Regions from separate parts of the Homo sapiens genome. Here region 2 is linked to region 1. Evidence: promoter capture Hi-C in 16 types of primary human blood cells and fetal thymus (Javierre and others, 2016). All regions are on one chromosome and are shown on one strand. Each heading gives the region's core, a stretch centred on a gene start or on the middle of the fragment in contact. The rest is flanking DNA. Distances are from core to core; before and after follow the strand shown.

Region 1 (7,182 bases), core at 1,546-4,045:
AAGGTGGTTACCAGAGGTTAGTGGGGAGGAGGAGGGTTGGGGAAAGGGAAGATGTTGATCAAATTATATAAAATTTCAGTGAGACTGGAGGCATAACCTTTTTTTTTTTTTTTTTTTTGAGACAGAGTCCTACTCTGTTGCCCAGGCTGGAGTGCAGTGGCAGCATCTCGGCTCACTGCAACCTTCACCTCCTGGGTTCAAGTGAGTCTTCTGCCACAGCCTCCAGAGTAGATGGGATTACAGGCATGTACCTCCACACCCAGCTGATTTTTGTGTTTTTTTAGTGGAGACGGGGTTTCACCATGTTGGCCAGGCTGGTCTCAAACTCCTGACCTTAGGTGATCCACCTGCCTCGGCCTCCCAAAGTGCTGGGATTACAAGTGTGAGCCACCACACTGGCCAACTAGAGGAATAACTTTTAGTGATGTATTGCACTACATGGTAACCACAGTTAATAATAATATATTGTGTATTTCAAAATTGGTAAAAGAATAGCTTTTTAATGTTCTTACCACAAAATAATGATAAATTAGCGAGGTGATAGATATGTTCATTAGCTTGATTGAATCTTTCTATAATATACACATAGATCAAAACATCACATTGTACCATATATATATATACACACCTTATCATTTGTCAATTAAAAATAGTTTTGAAAGGAAAAAATAATAATATTTTGTAAGTATTATCATATTTAATGTCCACATCCCTTATGACATATAATATTATTATCCTCATTTTACAGATGAGATAACTAAAGCTCAGAGAAGTGCAGTTACTTGCCTGAGGTTGCATAGTTAGCAAGAGAGCAGAAGGAAAATGGAATCACTTCTCCCTGATTTTCAAGTCTGTGTACCTAACTACTACATTACAAATTTTGCATTCTTATATTAAAATATTGAAATGAGTAGCTCAATGAATTTAGCATCTATTTTTAAGCATTTTGAGAATTACTTTTCAAAATTCTTCATTTCTTTCTTCTTTCTTCAAACTAATTCATTAGTTTGAATTTTGCAAATAGAAAAATGAGAACTGAGTATGTATACATTAGCTTAGATCTATTAGTATAGATCACACATATACATGAAATTTAACACTCTATTTTTGAAAGATTTAAATGAAAATTTAATAACATTTTTAGATAAATACATGGGAAAATCAAATATTTGGTGGTCCTCCAAAGTAACGTAGGTGTATCTAATATGTTTCACAGCAAGTGTTGAGTGATAGATATACATAAAATCAGAAAAGAAAAAGTAACCACTTCATAAATCTTATAAATTGTGCCTTTTTACACTTTTTACTTTTTTAAAAGTATTTCAGCTTTTAATTTATTTGATTAGAACCATTTGAGAGACTGTTTCCTTGATATGAAATGCAAGCACACTCATTAGTGATCATGGTCAAGACCAAATGGCCAGTTTCTGCCAGCAAACGATTAACTTTGATGACAGATGTGTAAACCAAAAATAATTAAATTATTTGGTAATCATTCTTCCTTGCTGTAGGCTTTAAATAGTATTAGATCTTTGGGCATGAAATATATTTAATCCAGTTGTTAGATATAGTTACATTTTCAAAGCTGGATGAATCTTGTATTCTCACTGAGTACAGTTCTCCAACTGATGTGTCAAGGATGATGCTTGTATAACTATAGGAGGGAAATCCTCTGTGATTAATGCATGCAGGAGAAAATACTATGCTCTTCCCTGTGGGTGCAGGGCATGTTTCTACATACCCACATTGTGTGGGAAGCAGAGTGGTTATACTTGCCCTTCTTGGATTTTTTCTCAAGGCAAGACCCTGGCCTCATCCTCCAAATGCATGTTCCAGTCCCTCTCTCACATCAGGGGTGTTTACGAGACTGACTTGGATAACTTTTGCAAAATATACTTGCCTGGCCCTCTGTCTCCCCATTGGACATTTGTTTCATGAGGAGTATCATTTCTAGGGTAAAAGCAAGGATTTTGAAAAAAAATTCTTTGCCATTTTATCAGAAGAATTATATTTAATGAAATTAAAAATAAAAATAGGTGATTTTGATGTTCACCCTAGGCTAAGAGGACCACTGCTGTCTTTGAGGCATTTACAGACATATGGAAATCTGAAGCATACTTAGAGTTGCGGGTTCTTTCTCTGTAATTCTTTTAAACTGGGCATAAACCTCAAAGGGAGTGTAAAATGCAGAGTGTTGTCAACTTATCACACCAAGAATATTTTTTTGCACCTTTTTAGTTTGGAAGGGTCAAATTGAGATGACAGAGGAATAGTGGATAAGAGCTATAGTGCTATTAAATTACATTCTAGAGTTGGGAAAATCGAGACCCATAATCCTAGGAATTATTAATGATAAGAGCTAACACTTTCTGAGTGCTTACCACATGCCAGGCCCTATACTGAATGCATCATGTCCATTTTCTCATTTGATCCTGACAACCACCTGTGAGGCCTCATTTTGAAGACAAGCAAGCTGAGGCTCAGACCTTGGATTTGTCCAAGGTCACTCAGTTGGTCATTTACAGAGCCCTGATTCAAACTCTCTTTTGCTTGATTACAAAGCCATTGCTCTAAAAGATTAGATTATACTGTCTGTATTTGCTTCTGGGAGCTTATGGAATTCACTCCTATCTGTTCTCACAAGGAACTCTATTGGGTTTTGAAAAAGGCTAAAGAATTGAAAAGAAACTTTGTAGGCTGGGAAACATAGTGTCCTTTGAGCAGTGAGATAGGCTAAGCTCAGAGGACTGGGCTCTGGAATGTGGAAAGGAGACGTGCCCACTGGAGAGCAAGTCAGAACTTTCGTGAGCCCTGCTCCAGGTCCCAGGAGAAAGTGCCAGCCATGAGGACTGGAGTATTGCCTGGTAAGGAGAAGATTATTATTTTATCTAACACGTTCTTCTATAACGCTCTATATGCTAGGCACTGGTCTGCACTGCTCTAAGTACTTTATAAGTATTAACTCCTTTACATCTTATAACACTTCCCTGGAAATAGGCATTATTATTGCCCCCATAATACATATGAGTAAACTGAAGTTCAGAGATGTTAAATAACTTGTTCAAGGTCACATAGCTGGTTAAGTGCCAGAGCCAGGCTTTGAACCTAGGCAGTCTGGATCTAGTGGCTGTGTTATACTGCTTCGCAACAGAAACTTGATTTTTCTTTCTTCTGTGTTTATCATCCTTTCTCAATCACTCCTGGGCAAGTCTACTTTGCTAGCAAATTTCCCTTACCCCTTTGGCTTTTTTTTCACCCATGAACCCTCTAATGTTTTCTGCAGCTTCTTTGAGCTCATTCTTTATCTTCCACACTGCCTCTTTTGGCATTACTCATGAACGACATGCTCTTTTCATCTGCCAAATATTTTTTCCATAAATTATCCCATCTCAACTTGGGAAGTCACAATGGGAAGTATTGTTCCTATTTTGTGAATGAGGCAACTAAGGCAAGCAACTTTCCTGAAGTCTCACACAACCATCTAGTGGCAAAGTGCACTAGAATCCAGATTCTCTGATTCTGAATCTAATGTTCTTGTCCATTGCACCATCTGATGGAATTTAACTATCTATTCATTAATTAATTTATTCATTAATATTGTAAAAATATACTGAGTGTCTTACTGTATGGTAAGGCCCTGGGTGCAAAAGTCGGTATAAAAATTGTTGCTCTTAAGCAACAGACAACACAGAGAGATAAGGTCTCACCATAAAAAGTTAAATAGCAGCACATATACTAAGTGCCAAATGAGTGGTCTGGTCACATCATACAAGAATTTTGAGGTTGGATATGTAGCATCAAAGACTGCTTTATCAGAAAGGTGAGACTTGAACTTGGCATAGAAGGGTACTTAGAACTTAGAGAAGAGAATGGAGCAGCACTTTCCAAACTCTGGGAATGGTGTGCATTAAAGCAGTCCTTCACAACCTTTATTGTGTCATGGCATGCAGAGAAAAGCATAGTATTTGTAAAGCACACTAGGCTGAATGGAGGAAGCAGTTTGACATCTAGAGGCAAGCATTCTAGGAGTTTCAACAGCACTGTCTCTGGGCTCAGTTGAGGACAGAGAAGAAATCTCATAGCCTCAGACACTTGTAATATGTTTGGGAAGGTCTGCACTAGGTATTGGGGGCACACTGTGGTCATGGTGGGTCTAAAGACCACTGACAAGCCCACAGGGATGAAATGAGGGGAATTTCCAGAGAAGCCATAGTAGATACCATTGGAAAGAAAAGTTATGGGCAAATGATGAAGGGCTTTTGAATTTTATTCTGTGGACCTACAGAATAGGTAGGCAAAATATGCATAGCACTGTTTTAGAAAGATTCCACTGGTTTTCATATGGGAGATTAACTAGAGGGAAGAAGAGTAGTCAAGAGGCTATTACCATTGTCCAGGTGGGAGGTGATGTTATCTTGAACTAGATTGATAGTAATAGAGACAGAGAATGGTGGACAGAATTGAGTTATATTTTGGAGGTAAAAATGTCAGGGTTTGGTAATAGAATTGCATAATGGAGAGTAGAAGAAAGGGAGGTGACAAGGAGGATTTCAAATTTTCAAGTTTAAGCAAATGCTTATGAATAGTGATGCCATTCTTTAAGATAGAGAGCCCAGGAGAAGTAGAAAGATTTTTTTGGAGGGGAAGGACAAATGAGATGATGAGTTTCAAGTTGACATTTGGAGGCAAGGAAACCAGTTAGGAGGCTATTGTAAAAGCCAAGTAAGACAAGGTGAGATCCTGGACTACAATGGTAGCAGTGGGAATGGAAGGAAAATGGTGAATTGAGAGACATTATACAGGAAGAATTGATAGGATTTTGTCACGGACTGACTTCTGGAGTTGAAAGGTAGAGGAAGGCTTGAAGCCTAAGATATCTTCTGTCCTTTATCTTCTTAGTGATGCTCCGATCTTCGTGGCTTAATATACTATCTATTTGCTGATGAGTCACAAATTTGTATCTCCATACTTTTATGCCCAATTGCCTGCTGGACATATCAACTTGCATGCCTAATAGGTATCTCCAACTTACCATGTTCAAAACTGCCCCTGCCCACAACCCCCAACAAAACCTGCTGCACTCACAAAACCTGCTCCTCACAGTCTTCCCCGTCTCCCTAAATACCAATTTCATTCTTCCGGTTGCTCAGGCGGAAGACCTAGGAATCAATCTTGATTTTTCCCTCTTTCATATCCTACATTTATTTGATCAGCAAATCTTATTGGTTCTACCTTCAGAATATATCTAGAATCTGACCACTTTTTCATTGCTACTATCCTGGTTTATGTCACAATGATCTGCTTCCTGGATTATATTGCACTAGCCTCTCAACTGTTCTCCTTGCTTCTGTTCTTGCCACCATCACTCAAGCCTATTATTCTCTCACTGTTTTTTGGAACCAGGATAATTTTATTATGTGAATGTCAGATCATGTCACTCCTCTGCTCAAAACTCCTCCAATGGCTTCCCATCTGACACTCAGTAACAACAAAACCCCTTATAATGGCCCATAATGCTGTATGCAACCCAGATATTGACATACTCCTGTCCTTCAGGTGATGGATCAAATATCCCACTTGGTAAAATCTTCTCTGATTACCATATTTAGTATTGCAAGCGCCTTCTCGCCATTCTCTATCTGCCTTCCATGTTTTATTTCTTTATACTTTGAATACTAGCAGATGTTATATGTTTATCTATTTATTTGTTTATCATCTATCTCCTTCTGCTAGAACAGGAGCTGGAAAACTTTTTCTGTAAAGGTCCAGATAATAAATATTTTAGGCTTTGTGAGCCACGTAATCTTTAACACAACTACCTACCTCTATCATTGTTATACAAAAGCTGCCATAGATGAGCATGGCTGTGTTCCAATAAAACTGTATTTACCAAAACAGGGAGCGGGCTAGATTTAGCTAATGGGCCATAGTGTACTGACCCCTGCTAGAATGTAAATTCCAGGAGGGCAAGGACTTTTGTTTACTGCTGTATCTCCAACATCTAGAATAGTACCTGGCATATAGTAGGCACATGATTTATTTTACTGAATGAATGCATCAGTGGGAGATTGGAAAGCTGTGGAATAAAAAATATATATATATAACAGAGCCATTGATGGTGCAGAATCCTGAACAAAATCTAGCTTTGGATGGGTTTGCAGCATATCAACTCTCCTTCCTTCTTTTTCCCCTCATCCCTACACTAAAACTTAAGCTTGTTATATAAAGTAAAAGTTGCTTTCATTGCCTGTGCAATTCTCCCAATGTGTGAAATTTCATCTGACTTCCTTTAATGTTGTCATTTGTCTATTTAACCCTCCTGACTCAGACTCCCTCTAATAACAATAATAACTCAAATACTCTGTACTAAAACCAGAACGCTGAAATCAGTATTTTTAATTAATTTGAAACAACTGCTAGCAATAGCTTCTATTGACAACTCTACGCTTTTCAACACTTAATCATATTCTGAAGTACTCCCAGAAGCTGGGCGACTGTTACTCTTATGATATGAGATGATATTTTCCTTCCATGCATTCAATGTGAATGGTTTGTTCTGAAAAACTTCAGCTTTCATGTACTCCTAATGGTAAGAATCACATGGTAGGAAATATGATAAATGAAGTATTTACCAGTTCTTACTGACTGTTCTTTCATACTTCCTTGGATCTCTTACAGGCACTAAAGATATCCTGTAGTTATATGACTTCCTATTGAAAATGCACTTTCACTCATTCATTATTTTATATAGTCTTCCACACATTGCTAACATTTACCAAACATTCACTACGTATGTGGTATTGTGCTGGGGGATTTATATATATTAATTCATTTAATTCTTATAAAACACCTAAGTGATATATACTATCATAATTTTATAGATGAAGGAACTGAAGTACTAAAAGCTGAAGTAATTTGCTCAAGGCCCCACAACCAGCAGAAAAGGAAGCTAGCATTTCAACTCAGGTCTGCCCAACTCCAGAGCCAAGATTTATCTATTGTTTTTTGTCACCTCAACAAATATTTACCATATGCCATGCAGCACACTAGGCAGTACCTACAAAGATGAATAGGGCATGATCTCCTTGGCCTTCCAGAGGTAACACTAGTTGGGGCTATATGGGTGGGAATGGAGTGTCAGATGCAGAAGCTAAGGAATTTTCTCTTTACAAACAGGTGGGT
Region 2 (7,182 bases), core at 3,408-5,907, 880 kb before region 1:
AAAATGGAGGTTAAAAAATTGGAATAGAAAAAATCAAAACTAGGTGTCACAAGGGCTTGCCATAAGTGTGAGTAAAAGAGATCTGATTCAAGAGGACCAGAAAGGGCCCCCTTTTGCCAAAATGCACCCAACTAACTTTGAGAATGATAGCTTTAGTGGGTCAAGTCCTTTGCTTCACATTTTGTCTATCGTCTCTGCAAGAATCGTCTTTGAACATTAAGCTTCCATTGGAAGGGGAAACTTAAAATTTAGACAGTCTTTTCATTTTAATATGCTTTCATTCATCAGCTAGGTGCCCCCCATATCAACTAACTGTGTGCTGCAAAAAGAAAAGCCCTGCTTTGAGAAAAGGCAGAAGGTATGGACATTTCGGAGTCCACAGAAGACAGATTCTAAGTAAGTGTCCCACAAGGACACTGGGTACCGTTGAAGGAAAGTATCCAGAAGGGAGTCAAAAGTAAATCTCTCCTCAGTGACTAGAACAAACAAAAATGAAGCCATAAGAAGACCCGCGCCTCCCCATACCATTTTGGCACTTTCGAAGCTACCAAGGTCCTAAGGGCAGAAAGAAAGGATGTATGGCTACAGTGCTCTTGACACCATTCTTCACTCAGGCGCTAAGAGCAGGCACTAGCATTCACAGGCATATGAAGCACAGAGTTCTTTGTACTGTTATTCAGTTCATAAAATAGGCTCTGTTGAAGCAGGGCAGTCTTGGGACCTGTGTGTGAGTGAAAAAGGGCAAATGTGTAAAGAAATGGGAAGGGATGTGCTACCCTAGGGTGTGAGGGTAGGAAACCTTTTGGAGATTGTAATCTCTTTCCCTGAAGTCACGTTTAAATTTCAGCGGGAGAAAGCACTCACTGCGAATTCTGTCTGCCTGGTGAATCCTCTGGAGGGCTTTCCGCATGCTTTGGCTGTCTTGTCCTGTGGTCAGGACGACCCCTACAGGTAAGCCGTGGCTCCGAAGAGCACTTGCGACTCGATTGGCTGTATGCACCCAAATGTCTTCATCTGAGGAAATGACTCCAGCATGAGCCCACTGGAAATATTTCATGACAGTTACAAGCACCCGGATGGGAGAAGGGAGTGTCCGAGAAAAGGTCGGGTAGCTAATTTTATTGTCTAATTCATAATTCACACAAGCCCAAGAGAAAATTCCTTTGTCCCAGCTGTTTCCCAGGAGCGAGGCTGCCTCGCAGTAGCCAGGGTTGGTAGGTCCAATAAATCCTGAGGCCATCTGGTGGTGGGAAATGAAACTGGAGAGAGCCCTCGAAGTCTGGCAGTCTTCATTGAGAATCACGTATTCAAAAGAATAACTCAGGTCAAAAGATGGGTCCCGGTTGATTCGCTCAATGGCTAATCGCGCAGCAACCTCAGGCAGGGCCTTTGAAAACAGCGAATCACAAGCCCAAGGGCCCACCACCCCTATCTTGTAGGGGAGTGTCCACACCTGCTGCGGAAGGGACATGACAGACAGAAGGCACAAGCACCACAGGAACTTGGCAGATGCAAGGCCATGGTGTCCCAGCAGTTTCCTGAAAGCCGCAAACCAGAGAACAAGGCGAGAAAAGCGCCCGAGTCCCAGGAACATAGCCCTCCTGCTTCCAGCAAGCTAATGACGAGATACTGGAGAGTTATTCTGCTTTCCCGACACAGACGGTGGTGTTTCCAAATGCCTGTCAATCAGAGGAAAAGGTTTGTTACTCACATTATTTCTGAAGCTTCTGGAAATCATCGGTTGTGAAAGAATGGCAAAAAAAAAAAAAAAATGGCAGTGCCCAAACTAAAAGTTTCTTTCCCCCATCCTGACAAAACTCCTCCTCTTCCTGTACCCCGTATCTCAGTACATGGCACATCCATCCACTGTTTGCCCACTTGCTTCTTTCAGAAAACTGGAAATCACTGAGACTCCTTCTCTTCCCCCACATTCAATCTATCACCAATTCCTATTTATTCAACTTCAGTAATAGCTGCCCACCTTACAGTGTTTTGAAAATTACATGAGTTAACACACGGCAAGTGCTTATAACAGAGCCTGGCAAGTCATTGGCATTATATTAGACATAGTATCATTATTATAGTTTTCAATATGTCCATTTTTCTCTCCCATACAGCTCTCTTGGAGAGAAATAGATGTAAACAGATAATAACAATGCAGAGTAAAAAGTGCTATGATTGAGGTAGCCCAAACAGAGAGACAGAGAGGATCACCTAAACCCAGATTTCAGGGGAGGAGAGAAGGGAGGAAGAACAGTCTCTCTGGATTGAGTACTGAAGAAAAGTTAGCCAGGTGAATGAAGTTGCAGGAGTAGTTTGGTGCTAAGATGCTAAGAGCCTTCCAAACAGAAGGAACAACATGCAGAAAGACCCAGAGGTAAAGATAGATAGATAGATAGATAGATAGATAGATAGATAGATAGATAGATAGACAGACTATATATATATGTGTGTGTGTATATATGTGCGTGTGTATATATATGTGTATATATATATGTGCGTGTATATATGTATGTGTGTGTGTGTATACATATATATATGGATTCTTAGAATTCTAAAGCATTTGTTCTGCTTGAGTCTGTGATGTCAGACAAGGCAAGGGCCAGATCACCAAGATATGCCATGATTGAATACTGTACCCAATGGTTTTAAGCAGGGAAATAGTATTATCAGATTTCCATTTTAAAGGATCTCTCTAGCAACAATGTGGAGAATGAGTTGGAAGAAAGCAAGACTGGAGGCAAAGAGACCAGTTTGGAGTCTGTCACAATAATCCATATGAGAAATGATGACAGACCAAGAGAGTGGTAGTGAAGACCTAGAGGAATGGGATCATCTCCTCCAAGATTAAAAATATCAAGATTAAGAAAACAGAAATAACAAGAACTTGGTGACTGACAAGATATAGAAGGTAAGTGAAAAGAAAGGAGGACTCTAGGATGATTTTGAGCTTTTCAGACCTAGGAAACTGATTGGAAAATGGCACAAGTCTCTGAGATAGGAAACACTGGAGGAAGGAGGTGGGAGAGACGATGCATTCTGATAGAGATCTTGAATTGGCCAACAAGTGGCAATATCCAGTAGATAACAGCACATACTGGAGGGCCTAGGAAAAAAATAGAAAGCTGAACAAGAGTTATAAATTCTTAATAGAAAGCTGAATAAGAGTTATAAATTTGAGTGTAATCAATTGATAGAGGGTAATTTAAAACATGCCTTTTGTGGAGTAAAGAAAGAAGACAAAGGACAAAACCCTGAGACCCCACAACACTTAAAGATAGGTCACAGAGATGTTAATAAGGAGAATCCTTAGTAAATCCTTAATTCTAATCAAAGATCAAAATAATGGCATAGCTTTCTTCAGGGCTGATAATCAGCGCTGGTGTGCACCAATCAGGCCAAACTGGTTGTTTATGGGCAGCAACAATTCTGTCTGTGCCAGCCCTGTTGGTTATTATCTTGACTCTCACTCCTAATTTTATGAGAAACCTTGACTCCTGAAGAGACCAATCTGAGGCATATCTAGTGAATCTTAAAGACCTACCACAAATAGTATGCCCCAACATTCGTATATTGGTGAAAGCTGATTTGAATGAGAGTCAAGAAAGTCTTGGGGGAGCAAACAGTTCACAAAACAACATAAGCCAGTGGCTGAGGGGTGTGTGGGATGGGGGAGGACTTCTAACTTTGCTTTGGGGACAGTGGAAAGATGATTCTGAGCTGATTATATGCATAAGAGCCTCAAATTTATTCCTAGGCCCTCAAAGATAATCCAGTCTAACCTGCCTCCAAAAAATTAGATCTATTCTGTGCACTATGTTGAATGCATGAGAGTGAGATACAGGATGGATGAAGTGTGAGGTGTTGACTCAGGCTTCAAAGAGCTCCCAACCCAGAGCTGAGCTCTAGTCAAGAGCCACAAGCTTCTCTTCCAGCTTCTTCCAGCCTCCCTCTTTTCTCTGCCATGGCAAAATTTGGGAGGCAGGACACTGTAGGAGCCACTCATCTGGAGTAATATGGGAAGGATCTCTATTTCTGGTCTGTATTGTGACAAGGATATTGAACTACATTATCTCTCTGTCCTTATAGGCCTCACTCTTTTGACCACTAGGAATGTGCAACAGTGAGGACAGCTCTATATGGGAAACAAAACCCTATTCACAGCAACAGGGCAAGAAAGCCGACATACTGCCTCTTCTTCCCCAAACACACTAGTTTCATGGGTTCCTTCCCAGTATCTGTGCATTTAATCCAGAAATTAGCACTTAGACTAACAAAGTCTAAGATATACTGAGTTCTTGCTGTGTGTCAAATGCTGGGCTACACTCTTTCCATGTATTGTCTCATTTTAAAAACTGAATTTAAAAAACTCATCACAGTCCTTTGAAGTAGGTGTTATTATCATCACTATTTACAGATGATGAAACTGAGGCTCAGAAAGGGTAAGTAACTTGCCTAAGGGCAAACCACGGTAGAATGGAGATTTGCACCCCAGTTGATTGAGCCCTGTGCTAGATAGAAGTTCTGCAGATAGCCCCTCATCTATGAAGTCAATGAGACTACCATTATTATACCTGCTATGTTACTCAAACTGAGTTCGAATCATTCATTTGCAGTTTAAAGAAGTTCCCCAGTCACCCATGAAAGAATAAATTAGGTAGAGTTGGGGAGGGGCAGAGTAAATTGGGAGGAGCCACCAAGAAATTCATTATCCAACCAGAAGTAATTTGCTACTAGTGTTCAAGCCTAGCCCTGGGACTGCCCACTGACTCCTCACTCAGGGCACAGTGCTGCACAGCTGGGGGTGGGGAGCACCAGTTCCACTGTATTCTATGTAAAGCTAATCCTAATCTTTGAGAATGGAAATCTTGAGGGTACACCCTTCAGCATATTAGCCCCAATTTTCAACTTCCTCATCTGCAAAGTGGGGGTAAATTTAATTTAATCATTTTGAGATAAAGAAGTAAATAAATTAGAATACTAAGTGCACAGTTGTCTTTCAATAAACACTGGTTCTTCCTCCCTATTTGGAAAGAGGACTGCACTGGGAATCAGAAGGCCAGGGTCCTGGACCCAATTCTGCACCAACTCACCATGTGACCTGAACAGATTGTTGCCTACTCTAGGTCTCTCCTTTTTCCCCTTTAGCTGGACTAGCAGATCAGCAAGTCCCTTTATTCTCTGACCTCCATCCATCCTGGGATTCTGTACTTTGTCTAGGCAGTTACTTTTCTAAACCTCTGCACTTTGAAACTGCTGAGTTCATTCAACATTTTCTAGCCTTTGCTGCTCTAATTAGCTTCTCACTGGAGTTGGATTCCCCCAAAGTACTTGCTTCTATCTGGTAGATCCAGTTCCTGATCATTTTTAATTTTGGCCTGGAATCCTCTGTCAAGCTTCTGTGATGTGAAGACCCCACTCCCCGACAATGCTGGAGTTATGCTACACTGAAAACCTGGGCTCCTAAAATCACTGGTTATCTTATTATCATTAATAACAAACACACGTTGAGAAGTTGGTCTGTGCTAAGACTAACTACAAAAAAAAAATGGGAGAGTATAAGGGCCTGGCCAAGAAATCTAAACAAGAAAAGCAAGCATGTACCTCAGGAGGGAGAAAACCAAGTTAGTAAGTTCCCTGCTTGCTTTTGCTTAACATTAAATCTCCAGTGCCCTTCGCAGTGCCTGACACATAGTAGGTGCGCAAAAAATATATGTTGAATTAATACTGAAGAGGAGATATGGAGCACAAATAAAATGTTTTGTATTACCATGTTATTTAAAATGCTCTATTTTAGGCCTTAATCAAGACCCACCTTTGGCAAAATTATCAAGGGGTAAAGTTTGTCTTCAGACTTCTAGCACAGCTCTCTCTGCCCTCTCGTTAATGGAGAGAAAACAACTCTAAAGAAAGAAACTCTTTAAATGATTTGCACTAATATGTAAATGAATGATAATATTTGACACTTTCCTGTATTCCTCCCCAACCAGTGGTGTTTGTTCTCTCTTAAGGGCTGGGGAGAAGTTTATGCCAAAATAATTAATCTCTAATAATATAATGTCTATTTCAAGCATCAGTTGCAGGTAGGCAAAGGAGGATGGACTACTTTTTGAGCAAAAAAATGAAGAAACTTTTGGTGCCCCTCAGATCAAAGTGATTAACTGTCCATTCTAGGTGTAAGGCTGGCATTTTTGTGTTATAATCCAGGTAACTCCTAAGCACAATGCCCACCCCAAATTCTAAAAAGTTAGATTTTTTATACCATTTCTAAAATTCATACAACACGGGTCCCTCCTCAGGCCACATGCCACAAAGTGTCCCTTGGCATTCACTCTCAGTTTTTGTTGCTCTTTTCCCTTTGTTAACTGCAAGATAAACATTTCCCAAGCTGAAGGTCTGCCCTTACATTTTTTCTGGTACCGATGTGATGCATTTGGTGATATTTCTAACTCTGTTAGGACTCCCTGGACAACCAGAAAGTTTTATGTTGCTGTAGGATTTAGTCTTGATCCCCCAACTCAAGATTTTACAGAAGGAAACTTATTCTTTAAAAAAGAAAAAAGAAAAAAAGAAGGGAAGGAAGGAAGGAAGGGAGGAAGAGAGAAGGAAGGAAAAGAGGAAGGGGGAGGAAGGGAGAGGGAAGGAGGGAAGAAGAGAAAGAAGGAAGGAAAGAAGGGGAGGGAGGAATGAAGGGAGAGAAGAAGGAAGGAAGGAAGGAAGGAAGGAAGGAAGGAAGGAAGGAAGGAAGGAAGGAAGGAAGGAAGGGAGGGAGGGAGGGAAAGAAAGGGGCAAGATAGGGGGAGGATGCCCTAAACCTCCACCTGCTGATTTTGGTTTAAGGAAAAAAATTAGCTCACTAAAGTCTTTCCTGGGGTTAATGGGAAATGTGGATATAACTAAAACAAAGTTTGAAGGTATGAAATTTTGGAAATAGAATACTACTGGCCCACAGTTGTTCTGGGGCCATTGCCTAGGTTACTCAGGTGTGAACACCTGCATGGGATCAGACTTCCATGGAAAGCGGCTAGAGCATAGGGATGCATAATTTCATTTCAGGTAGTTTTTACAATCTGATGGGAAGCCTGGCTTCACACAGAAAACCACCGTTCGTTAAACATGTACAAAGAAAGACTATGACAAATAGCTCTGAGGGAAATGGCTCCTCATACCAGCTTGTCAAGC

What was found. The method cuts DNA at HindIII sites, captures the fragments that hold promoters and counts their contacts. A CHiCAGO score of 5 or more calls a contact.
Region 2: a contact is called between a fragment that was not itself captured here and the fragment with the promoter of RTL9 in region 1, in 1 of 17 cell types (neutrophils). The highest score is 5.5, in neutrophils.

What each region holds. Positions count from the first base shown.
Region 1 is chrX:110,356,053-110,363,234 of GRCh38, forward strand. RTL9 (retrotransposon Gag like 9) reads left to right here and starts at 2,796. Exons shown (of 4, transcript NM_001385449.1): 1 at 2,796-2,864. It also overlaps a transcript of AMMECR1 not described here. The HindIII fragment of the contact is 7,244 bases long and covers 1-6,212 here.
Region 2 is chrX:109,474,343-109,481,524 of GRCh38, forward strand. It overlaps GUCY2F (guanylate cyclase 2F, retinal), which reads right to left. Exons shown (of 20, transcript NM_001522.3): 2 at 865-1,679. The coding sequence starts at 1,594. Among named protein-coding and RNA genes, the nearest start is that of GUCY2F, 4.2 kb to the right of the region's middle. The HindIII fragment of the contact is 1,473 bases long and covers 3,922-5,394 here.